Regions from separate parts of the Homo sapiens genome. Here region 2 is linked to region 1. Evidence: promoter capture Hi-C in human tissues and cell types (Jung and others, 2019). All regions are on one chromosome and are shown on one strand. Each heading gives the region's core, a stretch centred on a gene start or on the middle of the fragment in contact. The rest is flanking DNA. Distances are from core to core; before and after follow the strand shown. Region 1 holds the start of LHFPL3 (LHFPL tetraspan subfamily member 3). Region 2 overlaps LHFPL3 (LHFPL tetraspan subfamily member 3).

What was found. Contacts are between HindIII fragments. The study calls those that stand out against the background at their distance.
Region 2: a fragment that was not itself captured here is called in contact with the fragment with the promoter of LHFPL3 in region 1 in 1 of the 25 tissues and cell types used here (mesendoderm cells).

What each region holds. Positions count from the first base shown.
Region 1 is chr7:104,326,372-104,331,895 of GRCh38, reverse strand. LHFPL3 (LHFPL tetraspan subfamily member 3) reads right to left here and starts at 3,293. Exons shown (of 3, transcript NM_199000.3): 1 at 2,672-3,293. The coding sequence starts at 3,116. The HindIII fragment of the contact is 20,464 bases long and covers 1-5,524 here.
Region 2 is chr7:104,812,700-104,818,223 of GRCh38, reverse strand. The region is part of intron 2 of LHFPL3 (LHFPL tetraspan subfamily member 3); the gene reads right to left. Among named protein-coding and RNA genes, the nearest start is that of LHFPL3-AS1, 11 kb to the right of the region's middle. The HindIII fragment of the contact is 3,492 bases long and covers 487-3,978 here.

The sequences.
Region 1 (5,524 bases), core at 2,044-4,543:
TCACTGCAGCTTCCGCCTCCCAAGCTCAAGAGATTCTCCTGCCTCAGCCTCCCAAGTAGCTGGGATTACAGGCACCCACCACCACGCCTGGCTAATTTTTGTATTTTTAGTAGAGATGGAGTTTCACCATGTTGGCCAGGCTGGTTTTGAACTCCTGACCTCAAATGATCCACCTACCTCAGCCTCCCAAAGTGCTGAGATTACAGGCATGAGCCACTGCGCCCGGCCTAGACTAAACTTTCAAAGTAACTTACAATAGTTTATATTAAATTTTTTGTTAGTATAATGAGACTTAATTTTTTTAGAAAAATCCTGAAAACCATGTTAAATGTAACATTGTTTAGAAATATCTTCTATGTTATTCCTTAAAAATCTGTGAATGAGTGACAGATCCTTATTTGACCTGTCATCAGAATCAATTTTTCTTTTATTAATATACTTCACTAATGAACAAAATCATGTACTATAGTTTACCTAGAAATAAAATGCCAAATAATTGCAAATAAAGGTTTTAAAAAGTATGTCACTTAAGGATCCGGACTTCTCCAAAATGAAGTAAATGTCCTTACATCTTTAGTACAAAAACTATCCCCACATTTTACATGACGTGGAAAACAGGATAAACATTGATGTCAAATGCCTGAGAACAACATTATATTTCACTGCTCCAGGACAGACAATTTTTCTGTGCTCTATTCCAGAAAGAGAAAAGGAGAAAAACGAAACAAAACAAAAAAACCTTGTAATGGTTGCAGTTTGTATTAACTTCAAAGCTGGTATTTCTTTCTCAAAGATCATTTTCTTTTTGTCTTTCAAAAAGCGGGGGGTTAGAGTAGGAAACCTCATAAAAATCAAACATTGAAGAATACGTTGTTGAGAAAGCACCTGCAAAGTATTTTCAGACCTTTTAAAAACGATGTAATTTGAATCACCTGTCTAAATAGGTCATTTAACTTAGAAAAATTAAAATTAGCTGTGCAGGGTCAATTCTTTTTCTACAGCATCTGCATGTGTGTGTCCTCTTCAAAGTCAAACCAGAGCTAAGTGTCAAGAACAGCCATAATACATGAATTTATTCCAAATCTTAGTTATTCTGCTTGAAATGGCCATAAAAGTTAACTTTATATATAAAAACATAGAGTGAGGAATTGCTAGAAAAAGTTGGGGATGGGGGTGCAGAAGGAGACGCAGAACTCCCCGTTCAGGAGATAATGGTATGTGTAAAGGAGGGAGTCTCTACTGCTGCTCATTTCTTGCTTTTCACATACACACTTTTACAATATATGGCAAATCAATATCAGGCGAGCCAAAACACAAAATAAATACTTTCACACAAGTGTAGTCTCCCACAAGCTTCTCTTTCCTTATCAAACTAGCAATATAGGACTATGAACCTTAACGCTATTGTCCAGCACCTTTAAGTATCTACTCATCCTACAACACTCTGTCAGGGATTGAATCCCTCTCCCCAGAAAACCTTCCCAGGAATAGAATAAACGACAAAATCTTGAAACATCTTAAAAATGAGAACAGTAAAAGAAAACGCAAATGAAAACTTTAGCTGCCTAAGATATTCAGTGCCCTTCTACAACCAGACCATCCATAAAATCAAAAGGACCTCAACAATGTTGGAACAGAAATGTGTCACGACCACTGGACCCTTGACTTTAGAAGGGAGGGCATCCAAGCTGGCTGGCAGAGAGGCAATCGCCATCAGGGGAAGTACAGCAAGGAGTCAGTTTTGTTTCAGGACTCTTCAAAGTCACCAGGAAATGTACCCCATCCTTTCTGGGTTAAAAGTAACTTTGATGCACAGAAAAAAAGTACTTTCATATCCTCCAGCTAGCAACAATTTATCATCCACAGGGAAAGAGTGATCGGAGATGCTAATGAAACATTCTCCTCTCTGCCTACTTCCCCAAAGCCACTTCCCAAAAATGAGATCTTGAGGAATCTTGATTTACTAAAGACTTCTGTTTAAAGATGAAATGGAAGGAACTTTGCACGGACAAGGAGGCAAACTGAAGACTTGACATTGAGGAATTGCGAAAGAATGTTCTAAGCTACATTCTTCTTACAAGGGGAAACCCAAAACAGAATTAAGATCTCTTCACCTCCGGATGGAGGAGTAAACATATTTAACTGCCCGGGATGGAAAGAAACAGTATCACTCCAGCCACCGCCCCCCGCCCCCTTTCCCAGGATCAATGACAGAAATAGTCCCAGCAGCGAGGGGCAGGGCAGGCTGGCTGCTCCTTCCACTATGACCTCTCCAAATCCGCTTTTCACTTCGCCCTGTCAGTCCCTCCTTAGTCCCTCAGCACGGAACCCCGGCCCCATCTCTCTAAGCGGCCACTTCTCCACCCACCATCCTTAGTTCTGAGCGGACTCGGCCCCACAACCGCCCTGCCTCCGGGGCGTCCCTCTGAGTGGGCGTCCCCCACACTTGGGAGGCTCACGAAAGCCCCGGGACGAGGCGCCAGCGCCGGGGCTGGGGAACCCCGGGGGTTCCGGCCTCGCTGGGCTCCCGCCCCCCACACCTCGACGCCTGAGCGGATTAGGCGGCTTGGCTCGCAGCGGCGCGCACAGCCCCCGTCCCTCCCACTCTGGCCCCTCCCCGGCTCGGGCGCCCCGGGGTCCTCCGCCTCCGCGGAGGTGAGCGCGCACTCACCGGAGGTGAGCTGCATCCAGGCACATATCTTGTACACAGTGGCCGTGTTGCAGAAGAAGAAGAGGGTAAAGCAAATGATGCAGGCAATGATGAGCATCATGGAGAGGCCGATAAAGAAGGAGGCGGCTTTGAAGGCGCCCGAGGGCAGCGTGGAGAAGTCCGTGAAGCTGCCCCTGCAGGTCAGCTCCCGGGAGAAGCCGTTGCCGATGCAGTAGTGGAAGAGCCCGAAATAGCCGGCTTGCGGGGTGTCCACGCCGTCGCCTATCCAGTAGGGCTGGATGAAGCACACCACGTTGACGATGGCAAAGCAGATGGTGAAGATGGCCCACAGCACGCCGATGGCCCGCGAGTTCCGCACATAGTTGGTGTGGTACAGCTTGGCAGCCTCCTGAGCCGGGAGCATCGCGGCGGCGGCGGCGGCGGCAGCGGCGGCGGCTCCGGGCATTCTCCCCCTCCTCCTCCTCCTCCTCCTCCTCCTGGTCCTCCGCCTCCCCCCGCCTCTCAGCGCGCAGGAGACACACTCACGGAGCCTCGCGCGCTGCAACTCCCCTGCCTCCGCCTCAGCCCAGCAGCACCAGTTTCAGAGTCTGCATCCTCGCTCCCGGAAGGAGGGCGGGGGAGCGCGGAGCACCCCTCCGGCTCGCCTGGCACAGCCTCCCGGCTCCCCTCCCTCCCTCCTGGCCCGGGCTCCGGCCCTCCTCACCACCCTCCACCCCTCTTCCCGCCGCCGCCGCTGCAGCTGCTGCAGCTGAAGGCGGCAAATCCCTCGTGGAGCACCGCGGCGCGCAAGCCCGGGGCGCCTCCCGCTCTGCTTCCCGCCTCCCTCCCCGCTGCCCGGCCCGCGCTGCCAGTGCCCAGGGGCGCAGAGGACAGTGACGACCCCGGAACGCCCATCAAGGGGTGGACATGAGCCAGAGAAGTGGGCCTGGATTAGGAGGGCGAGGGTAGTCTAAGAAGGTGGCAGGAGCACCCACAGGGATCCTAGAGACAACCCCAGGATCCTGGTGGGTGTGAGAGGCCGGGCTCGAGAGGCTGATTCAGCGAGCATTTCATCACCGCACAGAAACGTGCTTCGACCTCTGCATCTTTGCAGAGGCACGAGGGGCAGCGCGGCAATTGCAGGCAAGAGGCGCCAAGGCAGTGGAGGCATACAGCCCCCAAGAGTCTTTCTTGTTACCACAGAACTGCCCCTGGCTAACTCCTCGGTTGCCTTCAGGTCCACAGGTGGAGATAGAAGTTGCGCAGGAGCCTGGCAGACAATAATGTAAAAGACAAATCTCAAGGGTGGTCTCACATCAAGCACAGCTGAGCTTGCGTCCTCTTTGCGTTTTTCCCCCAAGCAGCCAGCTGAACTGTAGCCAATGGATGCCCCATACTTTCCTTTAGGTCGTTTCCCCGATAATTCCTTCCATAGATTGGGCCTGTGTGTGCTTGGAAGGGACTGTGTCACAGAATTTTATAGTTTGTTTGAAAACAGGGTAGTTCGGCCAGTGTTACACTTACTATACAAATATTGACAGCTACTCTGTGCCCAGACGCTGAGCTGGGTGGTAAGGGTACAAAAAGACATAGCAGATGGTTAATTGTCCAGGAACTTCCATCTCCCCCTACAACCCAAAGCTAACCAGAGAGCTGTTTTCAGGCTAATTTATCCCGGAATTACCACTATAGAATTCCTTACATTTTCACATGGCATTGCTGTTGTACACCTGCCCTTCGTGCTGTTTCCTTAGCTTATGTTTTCCCTTTTAACAGTCTTTCTGTTGCTCTTTTAACAGTTTCTACTTTTCAAACTGCATTTCCCTATTTCCGTTGGTTTTTTTGTTTGTTTCCTTCTGATTCTGATATAAAGAAACATGTAACTGCCTCCCACCCCCAGCCATGAAACCAGAATGCTTAATTGTAGGAGTGGATTTTGGTAACAAATCGTTTTGAACCATATGATCACAGAATTTTCTGAGCATTTCTATCAGAGAGAATTCTGATAGAATTGGACCCTAAGTCTTACCTAATTGGCTATATCAACGGCTATTCTATGGTAGAAGGGTCATAACCTAAGTGATGAAAATTATGCTTTTCATTTGATAGTCTGAAGATTTGAGATTCTATGAAGAGGGAGGGGGAGAAAGTGGAATAGGGGTGTGAGACACATAAGATAATGAAGGGGCTGCTGCTGAAACTGGGGAAAGCATCTAAAAGCATGAGTTTTCAGAATCTTCCATTCAGTTTTTTCTATAGGCATGTAATTCATGTATTGTAATACATGTCCATCAGACAAGGTCCATCTTATACAAGGTCCATTGTAATACAAGGTCCATCAGACAGAGCTTTGAAAATCAAGAGAACAGAATTAAACAGTAGCATGAGACATGTAAGATTAAGTGAGTAAGAATTTCTAGCAAGTGTGGTTGTAGACTCTCAGAAGGTCTTCAAAATAAATATCAGAGGGATTTGGAGGAGGTGACAAAGATGACCAAAATATGAGTTAGCCCAATATAACACTTGCAAGTCTCTAAAAATACAGTTCATGATGATGCATCTTGAGTGCATTGGTGGCAGTGGAGGGTCAGAATTTCTGTTAGGTTTCATTTGTTTTAACTCTCCTGAAGTTGCTGGTAAATCAGAAGAATTTTAACATGGAAAGAGAAAAAGGAAAGGAGAATAATCAGATTTATGAGGCCATTTGGCAGGCCATGCGTCCCAGGGGCAGAGATAGCTTTACAGCAAGAACTGACAGTAATTTCTAGTAACTCTCTTAAGCCCTCAAATCCCCCAAACCTGGTTGTATGAAGTAGTCTCTCTTTAAAATAAATGCCTGAAAGAAATCTTACTGTTTCCATGGGGTGGTTGAGA
Region 2 (5,524 bases), core at 983-3,482, 490 kb before region 1:
ATAGAAAATAAAATAGAACAGGAAAATGAACCACCATATTTCTCTGAAGCATTTAAGTACACTCATTCCTAAGAGCTTTGAAATAAACTAGATGATCCTTGCTGGCTCAATAAATCCTTCCGATTCCTCTTACTTCTCTTGCTTGCTCTAAGTCAGCACTGCCCAAGAGCCCTTTGTGTGACGGAAATGTTCTGTATCTGTGCTGTCCAATACGGTAGACACTAGTCACGTGTACCTATGGAGCACTTGAAATGTAGCTAGTGCAACTACATTGGAAATGAATGGTACTTAATTTTAATTAACCTACAATTAAATAGCCAACAGAAGTCCTGGTGCTAGGTATCGGAATAGTGTTTGCCTAAAGACTTTATGATCAGTCAGCAATGGGAGGATTTCAAAAGACAGTTGATGATGTGGTATGAGGGAGGGACTGTGTGGAGAAGGAGGGTATCATGGTGTGGCCATGGGGGTTTGTATGGGATTAGAATCAGTGAAGTAGTACTGTCTGAGGGAGGAGGCTTCTGTGGTCCTGTACCTAGAATTGTCAATCGTCAAATCAGGAAAGGCCCCTGAGTTCCCAGGGATGTGAGGGCCTCAGGGCTCTATGATGAAGCATAGATGTTGTTTTTGTCCTCAGCTATCTACCAGTGTGAGAGAGATGAACAAAGTAAAGAGTATGCTATGGACCTAAACACAATCAAATAAGCGTTTAGGAGACTTGCAAAAGGATGAATGCCAGAGACTGTATTGAAGGGGAAGGTTGTTTAAAGATGTGGTGTTTACATGAGAAAACTTCCCAATGAACAAGAAAACCCTGCTGTTTTCTGGGCTGGGTCAAGGCAGCAGTTTGAGAAGCTGAATTAGATGAGGAGAAAAAGGGAGGAGGCCCTTGTGGGCTGAATGAAATGGGGTGAGGTTGAAAAAAATCTGAGGTTGAGCCTTTGCTCAACACATAAATATTGACTGCCCAGCACTGGATAGGCACAATATGGGCACACAGGATACTGGACAGGGTTTGCCCTCAGGGAAATTATAACGAAGACTGGCAACGTAGCCCGCGCTGAGCAAAGATAAATAGCAATACCAAGGAATACTCCAATAAAGTGTGTAGATAGGCAGAGGCAGGGAGAGATCCTTGTGGGCTAGGAAGGCCAGGGTGTGTGGGATGGGCCTTGAAGAATTTGCCTGGGTGGAAAGAGGGGGAGAAGCAAAGAAGGTTTGCAGGGGAGCCCCAGAATGACTGGAAGAGCTAGCAGTTCAGAAGTTAAGGTGGTCACAGTCAGAAGTGTGTGCTTAACCCAGAGGATTATGGAAACCCAGAAGACACAAGGTTCATGAGGCAGGCTTGGAAAATGCATTTTCTTGACAAATACAATGGAGTTAAAGCAGCCCGAGGCTAGGAGGCCAGCAGGGAGGAGTTAAGTCAGGCAAGGTGAGATGGTTCCACACCTGGGCAAAGGCTGTTTAGACCTGAGCTCTTTGCCACGTTGAGTGGCCTGAAAATGAAACTGCTCAGCTCTGACAGCCACTGTGTGCCTTTGAAAGCAGGATCTGAAGTTCACTTTAAAAGTGAGTTGCTCCCAAACCACTGCAGAAATTTCAGATGGGGCTTAAGAGACTAAAGCCAACATCTCCTTTATGCAACTGCTGATAGTAATTGAAAGAAGGATTCTGAAACCATGGTTACCATAGAGGACTAAAATTAAGACCAAAGGTGAGGATTTAGAATCCAAGAAAATAGAATGGGTTCAAGGTAGAGCTCACACTTATGCTTTGTATAAACTATCTGATTATCTTTGGTAAATGCATCCTTTTATGAAGCAATCTCAGGAGCCAGCATAGTGGTTCTTGCATCCCTGAAGCTTAGTGCAGAGCCTCAAATCCTGGGTAGCAGGATGGAATCCTGCTAAGCTAAAAGGAAACTAGGTTTCTGTAATAGGTATGAGATTTTTAGATATGATTTTTACCTAGATTGATTCTTTTTGCCCCAAGTGGGCCTAATTATGGAAAAAGCTTGGAATCTACTGGCAAATGCTGTTGCTGTAAAACAACAACAACGACAGCATTTTTTTCACAGGGCGCAGTTCTTCAAGTTGTTCTTTTGGGATGGGATCTTCATCTTGAACTCATAATGAAGGTCAAGGCTGCTGCAGAGTGTCCTAGAATAGGTGACAGAAAGCACACAATGAGGCTAATTCTCATTGTGCCAAGGGGTGCTGGTCTATATGGAATGTGGTGGTCAGCTACAGGAAGGAGGGGTTTGGTCTGTCATTCTGAATGAGCAAAGCAGTTCCATGCATGAATCCCTCATTCTTCAAAGGGGAAAGGGGGAGGGACCTTGAGAATTCCTACCTTTGAGCTTCTTTGCCCTAGTACTCACACGAGGCAGTTCACAACTTTCCTGTGTCTCCCAATAAGCCATGTGTGCAGCCTGCCATGAGATGACCAGATCCAGAAGAGAATCCAGGGCATGAGACTCTACTGTGTGGGGTGGGGTGGTGGTAGGCACAGGGGAGATCTGGGCTGACTTAAAAGAAAGGGCTATCTGAGAGAGAAGTGGCATTTAGTTAGAACCTCTGAACGGAGGAGAAAAAGGTGGAACTGGAAGAATTCTTTGTCCCTTTGGGTAAATCATTGTAATGAAAAACTTAAAATGTACAGATTTAGGTTCCCCCATATCACTGCTCAAGTGGTCTTCTTATCTTTTTAAGAATTTGATTTTTGAAATAAGACACACATTCAGAAGAGTGCACAAAATACAAAGGCACAGTTTAACACAGAATTATAAAGTGAGCACTGTGTAACCGCCAGCCAGCTCAAGAAATAGGACATTGCCAGTATCCTGGAAACCCCACATGTCCCTCCCCAGCCATATGCCCTTCTCCTGCTGGGGGTAATCACTATTCACTGACTTGATGGCAGCAGCAGGCCGTCTGGAGCTGCCCCTGCCATCATGCCGGCTGCAGCAGGGAGGCGGGGTGGGGGCTGTTCGCTCCATGGAGCCAGCAAGAGCTGGGACAAGTGGGAGCCCCACCCCTTCTAAGTTGGGGTGGGAGCTCCCTGGGTGGCTCTGTAGCTGTGGAAGCCATGGCTATGGACCCATGCATCCTCGTGCTCTCGGGGTTGGGGGGCAGGCGGGAGTCCCACTTTCCTGGGCATAGCTGCAGCCACCCAAACCATGGCTGCAGACCTGGGCCTCCTGCTCCATAGAGCAGGTGGGAGCCCAGGCGCAGCTGCAGCTGCCCCAAACTGCAGCTATGGACCCAGGCATCCCTGCACTACTGGGGGTCTGGGAAGGCACCCCTGCCCTTGCAGGCTTGAAAGTGCCTGCTCCCGCCGCCTGGTTTCTCCCTGCTGTCGGCACCTGCTCTGATCTCAGAGTAAAGTCAGGACCCAGCCCGGCCACTGCCGCAGCCCAGTCGAGCGTGCACACACTTGGGGCAGTGCTGACACGCCAGCACCCTGCTGCATCTGCCCCCTCTGGAATTTGGGCACTGACGAGCATAGGAGGAAAGCTGAGGGTGAGATGAGGGAAGCTTGGTGCTGACCTATAGGTGCCGCTTGGCACCTATAGCCTGGATGTCATGAAAGGCAGAGGGAGGCAGACAGGTTCCTGGGTGGAACGGGGCAGGTCCCCAGTGAGGCCCCACCTTCAGGCCAGGGAGGACCTGAAGGCTGGGAGTCAGGCTGCCAGTTCCGTGGACCTGAGTAGAAACTTGTAGTGCCTTTTCTGGGTGGGACCAATCAGCATGCACTTCTTCCCCTTTGAGGCCCTTAAAAGCTCTGGGATCAGCCAGAGCTGAGCAGATGTCAGATGATCAGCTGCAAAGAGGAGCAACCCACTCCAGGGCCTCCTCTCTGCTCAGAGCTGCAGAGACGATGGAGAGATGATAGGGAGATGATGAGTCGACCAGGTGCAGAGAGGAGCCACCCACTCTAGGGCTTCCTCCACTGCTGAGAGCTGTGCAGATGATGGGACAACCAGCTGCAGAGAGGAGCTACCCTCTCTGCTGATAGCTGAACACTTGTTGGGATGACTTGCCTAGCAGAGAGGAGCTACCCTCTGCTAGGAGCCGAACACTTATCAGGACACCATGGCTGTGGAAAGGAGCTGCTCCCTGCAGGCATCCTCTGAGCTGTTCTATTGCTCAGTAAAGCTCCTCTTCATCTTGCTCACCCTCCACTTGTCTGCATACCTCATTCTTTCTGGTTGCAGGACAAGAACTTGGGACCCACTGAATGGTGAGGCTAAAAGAGCTGTAACACAAACAGGGCTGAGACATGCCTCTTGCTTCCTATGTTGCGGGTGAAGAGAAGGAAAGAAGAGCTGTGGTCCTTTGGGGAACCCAAACCTGGGAGCTCCCCAAGTCAGGGCTATGACTCCTTCTTTGAGGCCCTGCAATTCCTGGCATCTCCAAGCTTTCAGGCACCACCGTGTTCTCTGATGCCAGCTGTGGAAGCTGCTTGTGGGTTTCTCCTCTTTGCAGCTGATCATCTGACATCTGCTGGTCTGGCCACAGCCTCATAGAAAGCTGGCACCTGTGCTGGAACCTGGAGTTGCCCTCCCTGCTGCAGCAGCCAGCATGTCTGACTGTGCACAGTGGCTGGACCCTACACTCACTCACACACCTCTCGCCATTCCATGCCTGACTCACCCTTAGCAGGCATGGGACCCAGGCTAGTAGCATGAACCCAGCACAGCCTGCCAGGCCAAGTGGGTGAAACAAGCCCAGTGGGCACAAGCAAAACTCAGGCAAAGGTGCCACTAGCCACAGAGTTTTCCGACCAGAAAAATGGTACCCCAAAGATCCCATAACACTTTTATGACCATCACTTCCCTGGCTTTCTTTTTGAGGTTACCAGCTATTTACATGACCCAACAATATGCTAAGTTCAATTTTTGATCTTAGAGTAATACTGTACGTATTCTTTATTTTTACTTTTTTGGGACAGGATCTCACTCTGTTTCCCAGGCCGGAGTGCAGTGGTGCCATCATGTCTCACTGCAGCCTTGACCTTCTGGGCTCAAGTGATCCTCCCACCTCAGCCTCCCCAGTAGCTGGCACCACAGTTGTGCACTCTCACACCCATCTAATTTTTTTTTCTCCCCGAGATGAAGTCTTGCTCTGTTGCCTAGCCTGGAGTGCAGTGGCATGATCTCGGCTCACTGCAACCTCCGCCTCCTGGGTTCAAGCAATTCTCCTGCCTCAGCCCCCCTGACTTGGTGGGATTACAGGTGTGAGCCACCACATCCAGCTATTTTTTTGTATTTTTAGTAGAGAAGGGGTTTCACCATGTTGGCCAGGCTGGTCTTGAACTCCTTACCTTGTGACCTGCCCACCTCGGCCTCCCAAAGTGCTGGGATTACAGACATGAGCCACTGCGCCTGGCCTTTTTTTTTTTTTTTTTTTTTTTTTTTTGAGATGGAGTCTTGCTCTGTCACCCAGGCTGGAGTGCAGTGGTGCGATCTTCGCTCATTGTGACCTCTGCTTCCTGGGTTCAAGTGATTCTCCTGCCTCAGTCT